2 separate regions of the Homo sapiens genome follow, and region 1 is linked to region 2. The links are contacts of gene promoters, found by promoter capture Hi-C in blood cells and fetal thymus (Javierre and others, 2016). All regions are on one chromosome and are shown on one strand. The core of a region is centred on a gene start or on the middle of the fragment in contact, and the rest is flanking DNA. Distances in the headings are between cores, read along the strand shown. Region 1 holds the start of FBXO34 (F-box protein 34). Region 2 holds the start of GMFB (glia maturation factor beta).

The links. Contacts are between HindIII fragments. The CHiCAGO score rates a contact against its expected background, and 5 or more counts as called.
Region 1: the fragment with the promoter of FBXO34 here is called in contact with the fragment with the promoter of GMFB in region 2 in 3 of 17 cell types (monocytes, naive CD4 T cells and total CD8 T cells); the score reaches 5.6 in monocytes.

Annotation. Positions count from the first base shown.
Region 1 is chr14:55,270,008-55,272,707 of GRCh38, forward strand. FBXO34 (F-box protein 34) reads left to right here and starts at 1,414. Exons shown (of 2, transcript NM_017943.4): 1 at 1,414-1,530. FBXO34-AS1 (FBXO34 antisense RNA 1) reads right to left here and starts at 2,071. Exons shown (of 2, transcript NR_184222.1): 1 at 1,875-2,071. RefSeq lists a silencer at 1,466-1,965. The HindIII fragment of the contact is 2,090 bases long and covers 847-2,700 here.
Region 2 is chr14:54,487,588-54,490,287 of GRCh38, forward strand. GMFB (glia maturation factor beta) reads right to left here and starts at 1,393. Exons shown (of 7, transcript NM_004124.3): 1 at 1,338-1,393. The coding sequence starts at 1,340. RefSeq lists a silencer at 1,076-1,475. The HindIII fragment of the contact is 2,730 bases long and covers 754-2,700 here.

The DNA.
Region 1 (2,700 bases), core at 164-2,663, 780 kb after region 2:
TATTAAATCAGACATACAGTTTGATGCCACGGTGTACCATATAACACCCTTCCTTAATTTTTTTTTTCCTTTTTGAGATGTGAGCCACCGTGCCTGGACTTCCCCTCTCCAATTTTTATTAAAAATATGTATATAGATAAAGGTCTAGATGGAGATACTGAGTGGTTATTTCTTGGTGATGAGATTATGGGAAATATTTTTATTTTGTTTTTACGTTTTAATATTTAAGATTTTACACATATATTTTACAACAGTAGTTTTATAATTGGACAAAATTATTTTTGTTAAGGACTGGCTAAAATCAAAGTTGCTGGTTTAAGTGTAACTTGGTACAACCTTTTAAAAATCATTTGGCAGTTTGTATTAGTAACTGTGAAAGTGTTGATAGTCTTTTTCACCTAGTAATTTCACTTTTGGGTATCTTTAAAAATCTACATTCATGAAGATGTTCTATGATTTCTTTATAATGGCAAAAAGTGAATGAAGGAAACAAGTTATGTCCAAAAATAGAGAATTACTGCAGTAAATTTTATGTCCACTTAATGTAATTTTATGCAGCTGTTAAACTGGTTATGAAGCTTATGTGGAAATATGAGGAATGCTTATAAAAGTGAAAAGAGGATGCAAAATCGCGTACAACTACTATTACAGTGTAGTAAAATATATGTGATGGGGCAAAAGGTCTAGAAGAAAATACATTGTCCTCATGTTTTTCAATGTGGTTAATATTATTTTCACAATGAAAACAATAATAAGCTTAAAGATTGGGAATCAAAAGTTCCTCACTGGCCCTCTGATTTGAATATAAAGTGTTAAAAATTTATATCCATCATTAACCAGCCCTTAAGCTTCTACAGACTTTAACAGTTTCGTGTCAGCCTCAACGTTTATCTACTTTCTGACCGGTATCCCTGCCATGATTTTCATAGGAAAGAGAGTCAGAAGGGACCTTTCCAATTTTGTCATTTTACAAATTGAAACTCTGAACCCCAGCCTTCCAAGCTAGCAGCAGAACCAGTATGAGGATCCAGGTCTACTAGGTTATCTAATAGTATCTGAGACCATTTACAGCTTCAGGTCCACCCACGAATATTCATAAACTTGACATGTCTGCTGATTGAACCCTGGCGTCACTACCCTTCTTGGCTGGCCTGGGAGGTTTGATTCCTTTCCCTACAGTCGTGCTCAAACTTTCATTCTCTACCACTTGGGGGCCGCAGACGCGTCATCCAGGTCTCCCTTTTCACTTCCCCCTTCCCGCCCCCAGTGTCCGGCAGGGGGCGCCGTGAAACTCTGGATCCGTGGCCCCTCCCCCGGCCAACCGTCGATTGGGCCGGCGCGTGACGTCACTCCGTTTTAGCCAAACAAATGGGTTTCGGGGCGAGCGTTGGGCGCCGCCGCGCCGCGCTGGGTGCTCGGTCCGACTCAGCGGTGGGGAGTGAGCCAGGCCTCCCGCCACCGCTGCTGCCGCCACCACTGCGTCGGGCTGGTGCAGCCCCGGGCCAGGCCGCGGCCGGGGCAGGAGCGCAGGTGGGTCCGGGCCGAGGTGGGGCGTGGCGCGAGGGCCGCGCGACTGGGGTCCGGCGGCGGCCACCGTGGCCGCTCCCCGCCCCCTACCGCCGCCTGCCTGCGCTCCCGGGGCGCGGGGCGGGTGGGGGTGGGGGCGGGGGCGCCGCCCGCGGGTCCGGGGTAGGGACCCGGCCGCCTGCGCCTCCTCCGGTGCGGCTCTTTCCGCGCGCACGGCCCGGGCGCTGAGCGTCCCCGCGGGCCACGGAGGGTCGGGCGGGTAGGGAGCGGGGTCCTGGGTCCCCGCTGAAGCCGAGGAGATTCACGGATAGGCCGTGAGCTTGCACCGGACCGGCGCTCCCACTTACGGGACCCAGGGCGGTGAGGAAGTCAGCCTCTGGACTGGGGTCGCCTCGCCCCTGTCGCGCCCTCCCGGGCTCGGCCACTCTGCCCTTCCCTGCCCCAGCGCAGGTGAGCTGGCGCTTGTCCTTAACCTTCTTCAACGACGAGGCGGGACGGAGGCTCGGACGCCTCCCCAGCCTCTGGGCTGGCGCAAGTCGACTGCGGTTCGTCCTCAGTCCACGATGAAGTCATAGGGCTGTGGGTCCGTGTGTCTGTGACGTCAGAAGATGGGTCCTGGGATGTCACTGCAGGCCCGGGCGGGGACCTGGGCTCACGGAAGGGCCGGGGGGACCCGCAGGGTAGAAAAAGGAAGTTGTCTTCCACGAACGCTTGGAATCGCAGTGGATTTGAATCGAAAGTTGTTCGGTATCAGCATTTTGCAATTTTAATGTAATAGTTGTCAATTTCTTTAACTTCTTGTCCAGCAAGCGTTGCGAGTACAGCTCAGTATAAGACATTTGATTTAGAAAAACTTAAGTCAGGGTAGGAGGTTTTTTGGAGGGTGTAATGTAAAAAGCCTTTTAGGAAGCTAAATTCGTAGTTTGATAGTTTGCAATCAGAATTACTGAAAAAAAAGAGAACCACTTCTAGTGTTGATAAATCAGTTTGCTTTTTTTTTTTTTTTTTAACTGGACATCTATCTGCTTGTTAGCATTTTTTGTTAGAAAATGGCCAGGAGGAGGGAGAGTGGATCTTACATGATTTTTTTTTTCTGTTGTAAAGGGAGGGAGGAGTTTGAATTAATCCAACATTTGTCTTAAATAATAATTACCTGAGGAGTTAATTTATCCA
Region 2 (2,700 bases), core at 143-2,642:
CTGTAATCCCAGCTACTTGGGAGGCTGAGGCAGGAGAACTGCTTGAACCTGGGAGGCGGAGGTTGCAATGGGCCGAGATCCCGCCATTGCACTCCAGCCTGGGCCACAAGAGTGAAACTCCGACTCAAAGAAAAAAAAGTACATACAGATCTGGATTGGATCTCAGAAGCAAGGTCTTCTGAGCTGTAAATTCACAAGTCATCTGAATATAGATGGTAACTGAAGCCATAGTTTAGGATGAAGAATACAGAATGGAAAATGAAGGATTAGGATGAAACCTGGGACTCCTTCGAGCATTGTCCAGGGAAAGGAGAATAGTCTGAAAGGGAAACAGATGGACCAATAGGAGAAGTAGGAGGAGCTCTGTATCCCAGAAGCCAAAGGGGAAGAATGAAGGAAGAGAATGCTTCAAAAACAAGAGAGTATAACACTCTGGAATGCAGCTAAAAGGTCAGAGAAGACGAAAACTGAAAAGAATCCATTCGATTCAGTGACCATGACAAGATCTATTCGATGAAAGTGGGCTGAGAATTGAGTGGATGGTCACAGAGAGCAGTGTTTTGTTGTTTCTAATGAAATTTACCCATATTTTAAAACCTAATGGGATGGATCCAAAAGATCCTTGATGGCGATTTATTTAATTTTCCACTTTATTTTTATGCTTGGGGTCCATCCCATGTAAGAACAGAAGCCACAGCCCCCAGAACCAACAAAACTAAAGTTATTGACAATTACTTTAAGGCCCAGTGCCAAAGCTTTGGGTCGAAAGGTTTCCAACTGCCATAGGAAAGCAAAGATAAGGAGAAATCCTCTGTAGGAAGCTAGGGAAAGGAGCAGAGAGAAAGAAGCTAAGGTGAGGCCGAGAGAATTCAATCGGAATTCGAGTCCTCCCCCAAAACGCCGCCAGGTGGAAGATGCTCGGGGCCCACCAACCCCTGGAACCTGGCCACGGCCCTGGCAGGGAAAGCAGGAATTGAGGGAGCCCTCCGATGGGGCAGACCCCTTTCCCTCCAACCTACAGCTCAGAAGCTGAAGCCCTCCAACCAGAAGGACCTGGCGTGGGGCCTCCCCAACCCCCCTGCTCGTGGCCGCACCCTAGTCCCATGGCCCGCTGGGCGGGTCCACCCCGGGCCCAGCTGGAAGATGCTGCCCTGAGGCGTGGTGGCGGCGGCAGAGGCCAAGTACTCTAGCTATGGGCACTGGCCAGCTGCTGGGAGCGGAAGCGGCCGCCGAGCCCTCCTGGGCGCTGCCCGCCGCCGCCGGCTCCGGAAACCGGGAAAACCCGGCTGGCCGGCTCGCCCAGCCCTCCGGCCCCCGCCCTCCCAGCGGCAACTCACCATTTTCCTTCCGGCCGTCAGCGGCCTGTCGCCTACACTCGGGCGCCTTTAAGAATGGCACGGCGGCCGCCTCCCTTCCTGCCCCGGCGCCTGGCCCAGTCGCCCCCACCTATCAACGCGGCCTCAGCGGGCCGGCACGTGATGGCGGACGGCAAAAGGCGCGGCTCAAAATTAGACAGAATGCGATCGCCTGATTTTTTTTTTTTTTTTTTTTTTTTTTTTTTTCTTTTCCCTGCTCCCTCTAGAGGAGGACGCTCTGCCTGGCTGCAAGTGAGAAACAAACCCAAGGTGCATACTTAAAAGTCATGCCAGTTCTCCGGACCTTTTTCGCAGTCTTCAAGCTCTGAGAGCATGTTAATGGTGACATCAATGTTTTCAATGGTAAATGTGTGTACTGACCGCAGCCTACCTTCCAAATTTGATCTCCCTCAAATCTAGGCACACCTCCTTTCCTCCCACCCTCTCCAGAACCCCACTTCTGACCACGGCTGCCTTCCAGGACTTGGTTAATCAATCTCTCTCTCTCTCTCTCTCTCTTTCTCTCTCTCTCCCTCCCCCTTTCCCTCTCTCTCTTACACACATTTCTTCTCTCTCACACACACACACATTTCTTCTCTCTTCTCTCACACACACACATTTCTTCTCTCTCTCTCTCGTCTCGCTCTGTTGCCCAGGCTGGAATGCAGTAGCACGATTATAGCTCACAGCAGCCTCAAACTCCTGGGTTCAAGCAATCCTCCTACCTCAGCCTCCCCAGTAGCTGGGACTACAGCCGTGTGCCACCACACACCCGGCTAATTTTTAAATTTTTTTGTAGAGATAGAGTCTCCCTATATTGCCCAAGCTGGTCTTGAACTCCTGGCCACAAACAGTCTTCCTGTGTGCCTCCCAAAGCGCTGGGATCACAGGCGTCAGCCACCATGCCCAGCCTCTTTTCTCCATACAAGTTATTTATTGAAGTATGAATGAATGATGATTGGTGTTTCAATGAGCACTCTTATGGGCCACTGCCTAAGTAAACATCAAGAAGTCTCTGTACCAGATGCAGACTTAGTGGAACAAGTCCAGTTTTGAATGCATGAAGAAAGTGGTTTGGGAGAAGTAAAGTTTAGGCTCTAGGATTCAACAGGTACCTTCAATAAAACAAACTGCCTGGGGCAGTACCTCATTTTGTTATGACCATGGGTTCTTGGTCTCTCAATGCAAATTGACCTGAGGCCAAAAGAGTTTCTCCAGGCAAGGCTTCATTGGAGCTTATGCCGGAGCATAAGGGAGGCAGCATAAGAGAATGAGAGAATTCCCTGACTGACTCTCCTAAAAGAGCACAACAAATTAGGGGTAGTTTATGCAGGTCAGCATTATC